Regions from separate parts of the Homo sapiens genome. Here all the other regions are linked to region 1. The links are contacts of gene promoters, found by promoter capture Hi-C in blood cells and fetal thymus (Javierre and others, 2016). All regions are on one chromosome and are shown on one strand. Each heading gives the region's core, a stretch centred on a gene start or on the middle of the fragment in contact. The rest is flanking DNA. Distances are from core to core; before and after follow the strand shown. Region 1 holds the start of STARD6 (StAR related lipid transfer domain containing 6). Region 2 has its middle 84 kb from the start of DYNAP. Region 3 has its middle 120 kb from the start of RAB27B.

Region 1 (4,345 bases), core at 1,632-4,131:
AATAATTTTAATTTCTAACAGTTTAATCACACGTCCTTTGTCTTGTGAAGCATTATGAGCTGTTGGTTATGTGTTCTTGAGGATTATTTAAAGTGCGTAGCAGTGGCACTACACGATCTGACCCCTGGCTTCCTCTTCAAATATACCTCCTACCAGTCTTCTTCTTGTCCACTTAGCTCCAATCATTTGATCTCCTGGCTGTTCCTCACATACAATAAAGCAATTTCTGACTTCAGGTTCTTTGTACTTGCTGTTCCTTCTGCTTGTCACTGTCTTCTGCAATGTGTTCATATAACTGACTGTTTCATAGGTATCTTTGCTTAAATGTCACCTCCTCAGATAGGATCAAGTTTAAATCAACTCAATTTAAACACATTGAACCCTGCTTGAAGTTAGAAACTGCAATGGACTGAATGTTTATGTCTCCCTAAAATTCATATGTTGAAATCCTAACTCCCAGGGTGATATTAGGAGATGATTAGGTCATGAGGGCAAAGCCCTTATGAATGGGATTAGTGCCCTCACAAAAGAGACCCCAGGGAGCTCAATGGCCCCTTCTTCCATGTGAGGACACTGCCAGAAGTTAGCAGTCTGCAACCAGAAGAGGGCCCTCACCAGAACCTAACCATGCTGGCACCCAGATCTCAGACTTCCAGGATCCAGAACTCTGAGAAATAAATTTATTGTTTACAAGTCATTCAGTCTTTGGTAATTTCTTATGGCAGCCCAAAAGGACTGAGACAGGCACTGTGGTAGATGTAGCAACAACAGTTGAGTAAGATACTAGACATAACTATTACTGCTGTGAATGAGTTCCGGAAGCTGCAGTCTCACTGGTCCTTCGGGTCATCATCCAGCTTTCAGTTAGGGGAAGCTGGCAGGTAAGGTGAAAACAGAACTGGATTCAAATCCTGACTTTGTCACTTAGTACAGCTATATTATTTTGGATAAATTGCTTAACCTTTGAACTTCAACTTCCATATCTATAGAATGGGGATAATAATATCTATCTCACCGAATCATTATAAGGATTAGTTGAGTTAATATATGTAAAAATGCTTTAAACAGTGTGGAGCCCTATACTAGGTTATCAAAATAGTTAGTTTCTCTTTAAAAAAATGGACACATATAAATCCATCATTTAAAAAACTCTCCAAAGATCTGCTTCCTTAAGCACTTAAATAAACCTTCTTAAAGTTTAATTATTGGAACATTTCTTCCTTAGCTCTCACTTAAAACTCTTCAGGTTGGATCATAAATCTATTTTCTCTTATTTAATTCTCCAGCAAGGCACAACAGGTAGTTGATAGTCTCTATATTTGAAAAGTTTTAGTAAACCATTATTATAACCTCCTCTTTCCTAGCAGAGTCCTGGTTTCTTTACCTTTCCTGACAGATCTAATGCAGAATTTTAGTAACTACTGGGGCTCCTCTCCAAATCCTTGTGGAAATCTCCATATCTCTTAACCTGTGAGGAAACAAGGCAGAAGTAGAATTATTTTGATCCATGAATTAGGTCAATATATTTGATAATTTTCTTTATATCTTCTCAGTGTCCTTTATCTATACTTTGTCTTCATTAGGAAACATTTGCTACATATATGCCCCAAGATGAAAGAAAAATATAGTACAAAAAACTTTAAAAGATACTGTTTATAAAAAGAATCTTTAAGAAACTATTTTAAAGGAACTCAGTTTAAAAAGACACTTAGGTGGAACGTGGATACAAAAATTTAAGTTTTTAAGCTTACGTCACTAACAATTAACAAGGATTGTTAATCCCCGACCAGGGCTCGTCTTAGCATATAAAACACCGTTCTTGATTTCCTATTGGAAACCTACTTGATATTAATTGATCTAGAGACTTTGAAGATTATTGGGACATACCACTAGCAGGGTATGTCTTATTTTCAAATCACCAACTATTACTGCCACAATAGACCTGTGTTTAACCACTAAACTGAACGTTATAGCTTCCGGACTTTTTCATTTGCTAAGAGAAAAGGGAAGGTAAAATTTAGTAGGCTACAAAGGGTAAAAAGAAGAAAGTGCAAACAGTAAGACTACAATTGTATTACATGGTGGTGGAACGTCGGATGAGCTGGAACATATTCAGATGGACTCATGGTCAAGGATATCTTCACTCATAGGGTCAGTGGAAAATAAACATAAACCAACATTGGGATGGCCTCTTTTTTTGATACACCAATTGGTTGAAACTGGATTCCTTCCAGACTTACAGACAGGTTCACACATGTTAGTGAGTCTTTACATCTGTTTGTACAATGACCCTCTTTCTGAGCTGCCTGACTGGGTCCCCAATCCGTGCGGGGTCACTGCCATTCTTCCCTGGGAATCAAGGCTTCCTAGGAGTTTGTTAAATCCCATCCCTGGCTAAACTCGGGTCTCCAATCTCCCATCTGCTTTGTGTGTGAGAGGCTCCGGGGTGTGAGAGGAAAGGCACTGAAGAGGGAGTGAAAGAAGTGGTGAGGGGGGACTGCCTACTAGCTGAGACGATATCTTATTTTTGGCGGGGGATGCTCTGGAAGCGGGGAGGCTGAACTCACTTGGAAAAACTGGAGCTGTGGGGCAGACTCTCAGCGACCGGAACGACAGCCGCCAGCGCCCTTAAGTCTCCCTCCCCACCCAGTCCCCTCCCGCAGACCCCGGGGCCGGCTGAAGGGAGATCAGCAAGTCCCCGCGCAAACTGGCCGAGAATAGCTGTGACGGAGGTTGGAAGGGCGTGGGGGGCAGCGACTTGGATGCAGCCCACATCCCCCCATTCCCAGCCCCAGAAAGGAGGGAGAAACAGCACCTTCCAGCAGGGGTCGCGACCTAACGCTCAACAGCATCCTCTCTTCTCCGGCCGCTCCCTCATCTCCGCTCGCGCCCGGCGCCCCACTGCCGCGCATGCGCACCGCAGGCCGGCGCCATGTTGGGGCGGTTTGAAAGCGAGCGCGGGTGTCGAGCTCTGCTGTGACTGCGGAGGAAGCTGCGAGTGAGCCGAGCCTGAGGCGGGGCGGTGTCCGGGTTGGGGATGCTTTGTGGTGTCTCGCGTTGGGTAACAGGCCTGAGCTTTCGGCGGAGAGCTGTGGAAGTGTGCGGTTTTTGTTTTTGTTTTCCTTTATTTTTATTTTGGGGCCTTAGGGGTGAGTTAGGACGGAAAGGAGGGTGTCTTTTCGAGGGTTGTCCCATCCTGTGACAGCCGAGAAAAGGCGAAAGGAGAGTGGCGAGGAAAGAGGAGGAGACGTCTCCTGAGGGAGGGCGCTTGTGGAGTCTCTGTGGAAGGAAGAACACTGTAGGGGGAGTGCCCCCTGGGCGAGGGAGGGTCGCGGGACGCGGCGGAGGGGGCTCACACGGGCGTCTGCGGACCTGAGGCGGCGACAGGAAGGGGCTTGCGCTCTGGGGCTGTCGCTTCGGAACACTTCTCCTTCAGTCCATTGCTGCGCTCGCCCTGGCTGCTGAATAAATGGTTTCGGAGTGAAAAGCATCTCACTGAAGAACTTGTCTGTGTCTGTGACTGACGGGCGGTGGAACACCAAAGGGAGGGTGTCGCCTGATTGGGACTGGAAAAATTGGAATTCAGGGCGCCCGGGGTAGGGGAACGATGCGCACTGCTGGAGACGGGCGACCTTCGCTGGCCGGTCGGTGGGTTCCTGGTTTTCTGCTGCCGAGTAAACAAACGTTCCCTTTCCTAACTTAGCAGTCACAGAGCTATTTCCAAGAGTTGTTCTTAATTTCCTGTGCGATATTCCCATTGGCTATTTAACACTGAACATTCTGTTTTTGAATCAAAGTTAGTTAAAATTTGTTGTCAATAAGTTTAACATTCTGTTCTTCCGCGTGATGGATTTTCTTTTGGAGATTCGAACTGAAGCCTGTACGGAGGAAATGGTAAGATATATGGGATTTGCATGAGATATGTGGGGTTCAAAATAATCCTGTGGCTGAAGTGGGGAGAAGTGGGTGGGTCCCTACCCACTTTAGCTACAATTGGGGTCTGTTCAGCGATTGTTGGAAGCAGGATGATGAGTACATAGGGGTTTATTGAACGATTCTACTTTTGTATACTCTTTTGGGGAAAAGTTGGAAAACTTTTCATAATGAAACTTAAATTGTGCATTTTCTTTTTGTCTGTCCTGTGAGTTGAAATAACTAGTAAATGTTATCACCCACTTACGGAGACCAATACAACAGCTTTCTCTTTCAAGGTTTTGTAAAATAAAATCAGTAGCCTGTTCGGCATTCAAAGACAGAAAACATTTGGTCAGGCTTATCCAAACAAATTTACTTGAGTGAGTTTAAACTTCTTTAAATAAAAGGGATACGAAAAAGGTAAAGCTGG
Region 2 (4,735 bases), core at 2,138-4,637, 320 kb after region 1:
ATGGTAGTATTCATCATGTGAATATGATTAACGTGCCCTGTTCTCAACATAGCTAAGAAGATAGTCTTGCAATATTTTTTGCATATTGCAGTACGTATTCTCATGCTCAATTAGATTATTTAAATCATAAATGATAGCTTTCTCACTAATTTCCTTCAGACTCTGACAGCAGAAACAGAGGGTGAAAGACAGGGAAGCCAGCAGTGATATGATTCAATTTCCCAAGAGCCAAGTGGTAAAAGGACTTATGATAAGATTTTATTTCATTTTATGCAAATTAAATAATAAGACATTTCTTTCTTATCTGAGTCTGTATTTGCAAAATGATACCCATCAGATGGGTACTATATGTCAAAATAGAGAAGTTAAACATTTAAGTTGAAAATATTATTTGCACCGAGGTCAACTTTGATTTCAACATCTGATAGATGAGCAGCAAGGCCCTCTATTCAGGACTTTCCCACCTGTTTAGACTGAGAGGACTGAAGAAGCAGAGCAAGAAATCTGTGCTCCTGAGGCTAAGGGTCATAGTAGCATGGGCGTGCAAGGCAACAAAACAGGTTGAACAAACAAAAGAAGATGACGCGGGCTGAGCAAGGCATGTGTGTGTCAGGGGTCAGGCCAAGAGAGAGACTGTCAGCCACAAATGCCTGCTTCCAATCAGCATGATTAAGGGTCTCAGGAATGGAAGCACAGGCAATTAGAGAAGAGTTTTACCTATTTTTCACCTTCTACCCCATTAAGAGTCAGTCTTTAGCGATTCTCCTGAAAACATCTACAAAATGTAACCAGTGATATTCAAAGGCAATGACTCCCTGACGTGGACCTTGGCTGATACTAAAAACCACAGCTCAGGGAGGCACAGGAGTGGGATTGGAATGAGTTCCCTTTCATACCCATTAGCAGTTGTCTAGACTTTGAAATTTATTCATCAAAAAAAAAAAAATAGCAGCACTGTGTTTTGTTTCTAGCGGTATTAATAAAAAATATCTTCTGATACATAGTTCACAAAAATATTAGCCTATCACAGGCTGCAGAAATCTTTTTCTCCTTTCCCTGAAATAGATAATATAATTCTATGCTCTATAGCAGGACTCCTCAACCCCTGACAGTTCATGGCCTGGTAGGAACTGGGCCGCACAGCAGGAGGTGAGCCACGGTTAAGCAACCAAAGCTCAGCTCTGCCTCCTGTCAGATCAGTAGTGGCATTAGAGTCTCATAGGAGTGTGAACCCTATTGTGAACTGTGCATGTGAGTGATATAGGTTGCACCCTCCTTATGAGAATCTAATGATAAATGTAATGGGCTTGAATCATCCCGAAACCATCCTACCACCCTCCCATCAGTGGAAAATTTGTCTTCTATGAAACTGGTCCCTGGTGCCAAAAAGGTTGGGGACCACTGACCTGTAGGGAATCCTGGCTTCAAAGAGATTATTTTGGGTGGCACCAAGAGCAATCCTTGTCTTTGTTCACACAGTTGCTGGGCTATCACACCAGCATACACAGAGTTTCATCCTCCCAACTAAAATGTTGGAAGCGCTTACAGATTGGCCCGTGGTTAGCCAAGGGTGAAATAGTGTTTGCTTCTTTGTGGAAAATTTCCACTTCCTAGGCTTGGCATTTGGAGGTCTAAGTCAAGAGCATTGATTTCACAGCAGTGGGCTCTTTACTTCTAAGGCTGTGTTTTACTCATGTTGGTTTGTCATTGGATGGGCTCCCAGTCTCACTTGAAAGCATTTCTGCTGAAAATAATAATAATCTTGGCAGAGCATAGACTAATATGGCTTTTAAAGATACATCTCCAATCTCTCCTACACCATGTCTTCTCTGATTCTTGCAGCCAAAAGTGGCCACTCCTTCCTCTAAATGTCCATGCAAATCTGTTCGTACTTCATATGTCATTCACCACATTCTAGTTATATTATACCACAGTATAATTACTTTTTAATATAGCATAGTGTTTAAGTCTGATTAAAAAACTTGGGCTCTGAATTCATAGATATTTGGGTTTGAATCTTTGCTCAGACACTTGCAGGTTATGTGACTTTGGACATGTTGCCTGACTTTGTCTCACCTGTAAAATGGGGATAAAGAGAGAATGTAGCCCTCAGAGTAGCTGTGGGAATTAATGAGAATTAAGCATCTAGCACAGAATAATTGCCCAATAAATATTAACTTTTATTATCTTCTCTCTAATTAACCTATAAGCTTTTTTTTTAAGAGCAAAACACATGTTTTATTCAACAGTGTACTAGTCTAGTAGCCCATGGCATAGTGTCTTACACAAAGTAAGCACTCAAAAGTAATTTTGAATGGATAAGAGAATGGCGAGGCCTCGAGATTATGAAACATGAAAAGGAGACAGGAAGAGAAGCTCATGAAGGAGCCTGTATTAGTCCATTCTCTCATTGCTGAAAGGAACTACCTGAGTCTGGGTAATTTATGAATCACTTGAACCCGGGAGGCAGAGGTTGCAGTGAACCAAGATTGTGCCATTGCAATCCAGCCTGGGTGAAAGAGTGAAACTCTGTCTCAAAAAAAAAAAGAAAAAAAAGAAAAGAAAAATAACTTGTCCAAGGTCACATTGTTATTAACAAGCAGAATTGAGCTTTGAGTGAAGTACTTGTTCTATGACACTCTCCATCCAACTAAACTTTGCCTTCCATATTTGTTGGCTTATTTTGTCCTGGGAAGGACTGTGTTTCTAGAGCACAGACTTTTCTCACCTTGTCTGAGTCCTTAACATCAGCCTAAGGGATGCTGTGTCACACAAGGCCTAACATGGTCAGTCAGATTACTCAAGGTCTAATTTGGACGGCTGCATGCTTAATCTATTCAATCCTGTGCTTAATAGGCCATTAAAAGGGCTGACAACACAGTCCCCAGAATGCCTTGGAAGATTCATTAGTCACACACAGGGGCTGCTTTTGTGCTTCACACAAACAAGGCCATCTGAGAAAGCAAAAGAGGATAACATTTTAAATCCTCTATTCCTACACTTCATTTTTTTGTTTGCTTTTACCTTTTGCTGATTTTCCCTTCGGACATAGGGAACTTTTTTCACATTCTTTAGATCCTAGGCTCTGCCCCAAATTTATCTCTGCCAGAATTCACCTAGGTATACATTCAAGGAAAGAACTAAAGTGAAATATGATGAGCAGTTTCTAAGTACTTTAACTGATATGGTGTATAACAAGTATTTTGAGAGAGATCTAAATTTAAAAAAATACACCTAGCATATTATGTTATGCTACTTCATTAAAAATTAGAGACAAAATTGAATTCCTATTTATACACGCATACTGTATCTCTCATACCAAAACTAAGACTTATAAAGATAAATATTAGTAAATGTTAATCCATGAAAGTCTTTCCATTTTCACATGGAAAAGACACAATAAACCAAAGTCAACAACAAACCGGGAAAAAAATATTTTCAACACATAGAAAAAAATTTTAAATATTGCTTACATATAATGAGTACTTACAAATTAATAAGATTTTTATAGGCACACACTAAGAAAGAGTAACAAAGGACATTGATGTGCTTGTCACAGAAGAAGTCTATGTAATGAATAAAAACAGAGGGTAAGATACTTGACCTCATAGTTAAATATATAGAAATTGAAATAAAAGTGATATATTTTTATTACTAGGTTTAGACAAATTTTCTGAAAATTAATGACTTTTTAAGAAGACATAACTATTTGGTATTTGTGACCCCACTAGAAAAGGAACATGCCTGTAAGAACACTTCCTGAAATATACACTAAAAAGTAAAGTATCAGCAGACTCTGCTACTAGCTTTGCTCATTGGATGTGGAGACATGAGCTCTCTTTCCCGCTATGTTTCTCCACCTTCCAGCTATTCCTAGAGAGTTGGCCATGAGCCTCAGTGGACACATGACCTAGGTCCTCAGGGGTTCCCAAAGGAAATTTGAGTTTTGAGGCATTTGAAAGAGGAAGAAATATCTCTTCCTCTGAATTTTTTTCCAAAGGAGATAAGTAGATATTTTAACAAAGGCATTTCAGTCAATGAAAGGTGGTGATTATGAGAGAGGTTCCAATGACAGTTCTGCCACTTATTATCTGAGTTACTCTGGGAAAGGGCCTTATTTCCTCTAAGTGTCAAATGTCCAAATGTTTTTTATACATTCTGAAAAAGTAGAGCAATCAAGAGTAATAAACCAGGTAATAAAACATACTATCAAGAACTAATAATTAAAACAGTGTGGTACTGGCAGACAGAGACCCATGCGAAAGCATATACAATCTAGAAAGAGATTCCCTCCCCTCAATATAAGAGTTCAGTAATAAAGATGGGATCTTATACCAATAAGCAAAATGTGAACTATACTTAATAAACAGCATCTCTATTTAACAGCAATCTGGGGAGGGGGGAAGCTGCATCCATACCTTATACCTTACACCAGGATAGGAGAGTTTAATTTTCTGAGTTGCCCAAAAGAAAAGATCCATAGTTACAGACACTAGGGGTTTTCTTTCTGATCATCTAATGGTAAAATCCACAGTCAACAGCCTCACCCTCTAAGCAATGTACAGAAAGCTTTTTTTTTTTTTTTTTGAGACAAAGTCTTGCTCTGTCTCCCAGGCTGGAGTGCAGTGGTCCATCTTGGCTGACTGAAACCTGCAACCTGCACCTCCCAGGTTCAAGTGATTCTCCTGCCTCACCCTCCCAAGTAACTGGGACTACTGGCATGCACCACATGCCC
Region 3 (4,501 bases), core at 1,125-3,624, 350 kb after region 1:
CTCTTCCAAGTGTACTTAGCTTCCTTTCATCCCTGCCCTAAAACGTTTTAATAAACTTTCACTCCTGCTCTAAAACTTGCCTTGGTCTGTCACTCTGCCTTATGACCCCTCGGTTGAATTCTTTCTTCTGAGGAGGCAAGAATTGGGGCTGATGCAGACCTGTATGGATTCACCACCGCTAACATAACCATATTCATTTTCCATCATGTTTTTATGACAACTAAAAGCTATATTATGATGATGATGATGATGATGATGATGATGATGATGATGAAGTTCCTCAAAATGGGGCTTTGTTATGTAAATAATGAAAAAGTCACTGATGGCAACTGATGAGATTATTTGTGGCCATTTTTTGGTCTTCATTTTCATAGACTTTAGAGAATGTGTTTTCAAGATATTCTCAAGGTGACCTTTCCTTGGTAGAGCATACCTTGCATGCCATTAAATATACAGACAAACTGGGTATGACTCCTTCAGTCTGGTTAGGAATTTTTGTGTAGAGCTCTCCTGTCTATGTACATTTCCTGGACTCTACTTAGCCTATTGGCAAAGGTGCTCTACGCTATGTGTTTAAAAGCATTTATATTAGATGACACTGCTTTAATTTATATTACATATAGTGAGGCAAAGTCCATGTTAAGTCCTTTCCTTGTGCCATTATAAATGTTTAATTTGGTTCAGGACAGGAAGGCTACCGAAGTTATATCCAAACAAAGCATATGATGTATTACAAGGGAAGTCTGATGTGATGAGGATACCACCTTGGTCATTTTAAAAAAATGCTAGTTACATTAGAAAGCATAAGACATACACTTTAAATCTTTTACCTCAACTTAAAATAGATAAATGTTAACTTATTTGTCACTCTTTTACAATGAGGACAAGTTCTTTCCTTTGAGTGTGTATGAGTATCAAGTGTCTATAATTTCTAGTTTTAGTTCTGTTAAGTGGAGCAAGAACACAAAACCCTTGCAAAGCCATCTGAATACATAATTCTCTATTATTTTTGTTTGTTTGTTTTCAGACACAGTTTCACTCTCGCTGGAGTGCAGTGATGCAATCTTGGCTCACTGCAACCTCCACCTCCCAGGTTCAAGTAGTTCTTGTGCCTCAGCCTTCCAAGTAGCTGGTATTACAGGTGTGCACCACCACATCTAGCTAATTTTTGTATTTTTAGTAGAGACAGGGTTTCGCCATATTGGCCAGGCTGGTCTCGAACTCGTGACCTCAAGTGATCCACCTGTCTGAACCTCCCAAAGTGCTGGGATTACAGGCATGAGCCACCATGTCACAAAATTTACTTTCAATCCTCTAGAATATTTTGGGCCCATAGCTGATTTGGCAACAATTTATTTTAGCGAATCATCTTTATCTAGTTGTTACAAAGCATTACATTTATTTTTCTTAGAAATAGTAACTCTCTTTTGCACTCATATCTTATCAGTATAAACACCTTTCAATTCAATTATATAGTTACACTAAAAATACATCCAACACTAACAGCTTTGGTACTATACGCTAATGAATCTTGGTTTACGTGTAACTCAAATAGAGTGGAAGAACACGGACATGCTTGGGAGTAAACACTAGCCTTCTACATGTGTGGACATCAGTCAGCATGTTTTGTTGAGTAGATTGGAGTAAGTCGGTTAAAATGAGGAGCATTGGGACTGGGGGTGAGGCAAAAGTGATGGCAATGATGATTTATTGAAGCTTCTTTAAAAGAGCTTTACTCTATCTACAAATATGAATTATTCTCAGTGTTGATACAAATAACATAGTCACACAAGATGTTGAATATATTGTGGAATTCAAATATTTAAAAGAACGGTGGGGCTGGTAAGAAATGCATTTGCAATGTAGTATAATGTAGTATAGTTTCATCTCATATCTTTTTCTTAGATGAGTCATGTTACTTGGTGTTATTATTCTAAGCATTTGATCACCCCAGGTCATGAAAAGCATGACACACTTGTTTTGAGACAGAAAATTTCTCTTACTACATGAATCCAGAAAGCACATGATTCACATTTTATATGCCTTTGAAACGGGAAATGTTCCCTTGTTCCCCTAGCAGGGTGTGTGATGGGGGTGTGGCTCGCTTCTTCAGTGCCTGCTGCTCAAAACTCTAGGGGAGCCCAGAGACAGGCAGGCTGTGGGGCTCCAACCTCACTGCAGTGTCTAGGCATGAATGTTTATAGCTCCTGAAGCCCCAGTGGGTTTGTGTTACAGGGTGCTCTCTTGGTTTGCTGTCTATAGGCAGCTTATGTTAACCAGCTCAATTAGACTCTACACCTTGTCACAAGGACAGAGGGCATTCTGTATCCTGGGTTCTTGCCTTGGTGTACCAGAAGAATCGGATCACAGGTGGGCTTGGAGAATGAGTGCCAAGTTTTATTGAGTGGAAATAGCTCTTCACTGCTGGATGAGCCAGAAGGGAGACGGTTTTCCCCTGGAGTTGGGCCGCTCAGGCACATGCCAAACTCCGCCTCTCCTGCAGGTGGATGGCCTGCCAGTGTGCCAGCGTTTGTTGGTGTGCTCTTCTGCCGGCATGCTCCCTCCGTGTCCTCTTGATGTCCAGCAGCTTGTCTTCTTCCACTGATGTTTTCCTCTCGCCCTCCAGCAGCTTTCATCTCTGCCTTGCTAGGGTCTCAGCTTTTTATAGGCCCAAGAGAGGGGTGTGGTGGGCCAGGGTGGTCTTGGAAAATGCAACATTTGGGCACAAAGGCAGAAGTGCCTGTCCTCACCTAGGTCTGTGGGGCTAGGGCCCTAGCCAGGGACCTGCCTTTCTCTACCCAGCATTTCTCTACCCTCCTCCTGTATCACCTTGAAGAGGTAGAGGTTCTGTTTTATTTTAATAACCACCACAATTTATTTAACCATTCCTTGATCCACGTATAGAATATTCATGCTAAGCACTCTGCATGTATGATCCTATCTAATCCTAAACAAACTCTTTGCAGAGGTATTATTACTGGATTATACTTATGAAGAAACTGAGATTCACTTTGTAAAGTTTCAAAGTGAAAGAAGCTTGAAAGTCATTGCTGTTATCAATGCTGCACATCTCCAGAGTGGCAGCCTTTGGCTTTATGCTACTAAATATAGTGGTTTCCTTTTCTAAAAAGAAACACTTTTTTTTTTGTTTTGAGATGGAGTTTTCTTCTTGTTGCCTAGGCTGGAGTGCTATGGCATGATCTTAGCTCACTGCAACCTCTGTCTTCCGGGTTCAAGTGATTCTCCTTCCTTGGCCTCCCGAGTAACTGGGATTACAGGCATGTGCCACCACGCCCGGCCAATTTTGAATTTTTAGTAGAGATGGGGTTTCACCATATTGGCCAGGCTGGTCTTGAACTCCTGACCTCAGGTGATCCAGCTACTTCGGCCTCCCAGAGTGCTGAGATTACGGGCGTGAGCCGCCGTGCCCGGCAGGTTTTCTTTTTGTAATGGGGAGCTATTCTGTGCTAGGCCTTTAAATGTAGTTGACATGGGGTCATCACAAGAAGCCTATGAAGTACTACTTATTAAACTATATGGAAGCACAAAGTGTCAGATTTAAATCCAGGTCTGTAGTCCCAAAGTCAGTGATTATCCCACTCTATTCTATAACAGATACATTTGCATATGGCACCTGACTGCCACAATTCACTAGCACGTGAGTACACATAAGGTCACATATAATTGATAACCAATCCCACAGGATCTGAGCCCCCCTTCACCGGCTCATCCATGAATTCCAGCTCCTTACAATGTCCTTCACTGCACAGTCATCTTGAAAAGCCACAGACTGGTCCAAGTCACACTGTTCTTATAGTCACCATTGGCTTTTGGCAAGTTGAGCCCAAGATCTGTGATACCAGCACCCCCCTTTACAAACCTGGGCACTGTGACACAGCTGTCCCTGCAGAACCAGCAGTTCCTGACCTGATGGGGGTCCCCAGTGATTCTTCCAGGCACTGAATCTCAACACACCTGTGTGAGCCAAGCAGACTGAAAGGGAAGAGGATAACAGCACCCACACATTTCAAGTTTTCTCAGGGCCAAAATACTACAGAGTTTATGAGCTATCTATCTTAGTCAATTCAGGCTTCTGTAACAAAGTGTAGACTGGGTGGTTTATAAACAACATAAATTTTCTTTTCACAGTTCTGGAGGCTGGAAGTCCAAGATCAGAGTGCCAGCACAGTCAGGTTCTGCTGAGGGTTCTCTTCTGAGTTGTAGGCTGCCCACTTCCCTTTCGATCCTCACATAGCAGAAAGTGGGTGAGAGAGCTCTTGCGAGTCTCTTTGATAAGAACACTAATCCCACCCATTAGCGCTCTACCCTCATGACCTAATCTCTCAATGACCCCCACATTCTGAAACCATCACATTAAGGGTTAGAATCCCAACATATGAATTCTGGGGGGACACAAATATTCAGTCTATTGCAGTATCTTAGGGTTTTCAGTTTGTATGGAGTCTTTTTCTATTACAATCATGTCCATCTCAGTCACAAA

What was found. The method cuts DNA at HindIII sites, captures the fragments that hold promoters and counts their contacts. A CHiCAGO score of 5 or more calls a contact.
Region 2: a contact is called between a fragment that was not itself captured here and the fragment with the promoter of STARD6 in region 1, in 2 of 17 cell types (M2 macrophages and total CD4 T cells). The highest score is 5.2, in M2 macrophages.
Region 3: a contact is called between a fragment that was not itself captured here and the fragment with the promoter of STARD6 in region 1, in 2 of 17 cell types (fetal thymus and total CD4 T cells). The highest score is 6.6, in fetal thymus.

What each region holds. Positions count from the first base shown.
Region 1 is chr18:54,354,977-54,359,321 of GRCh38, forward strand. It overlaps STARD6 (StAR related lipid transfer domain containing 6), which reads right to left and starts at 2,882. Exons shown (of 8, transcript NM_139171.2): 1 at 2,816-2,882; 2 at 1,385-1,468. C18orf54 (chromosome 18 open reading frame 54) reads left to right here and starts at 2,930. Exons shown (of 9, transcript NM_001288980.2): 1 at 2,930-3,099; 2 at 3,798-3,894. RefSeq lists enhancers at 3,434-3,945, 3,447-3,516. The HindIII fragment of the contact is 3,120 bases long and covers 1,745-4,345 here.
Region 2 is chr18:54,672,448-54,677,182 of GRCh38, forward strand. No RefSeq gene overlaps it. Among named protein-coding and RNA genes, the nearest start is that of DYNAP, 84 kb to the left of the region's middle. The HindIII fragment of the contact is 2,359 bases long and covers 2,209-4,567 here.
Region 3 is chr18:54,710,476-54,714,976 of GRCh38, forward strand. No RefSeq gene overlaps it. Among named protein-coding and RNA genes, the nearest start is that of RAB27B, 120 kb to the right of the region's middle. RefSeq lists a silencer at 1,863-2,157. The HindIII fragment of the contact is 1,320 bases long and covers 1,715-3,034 here.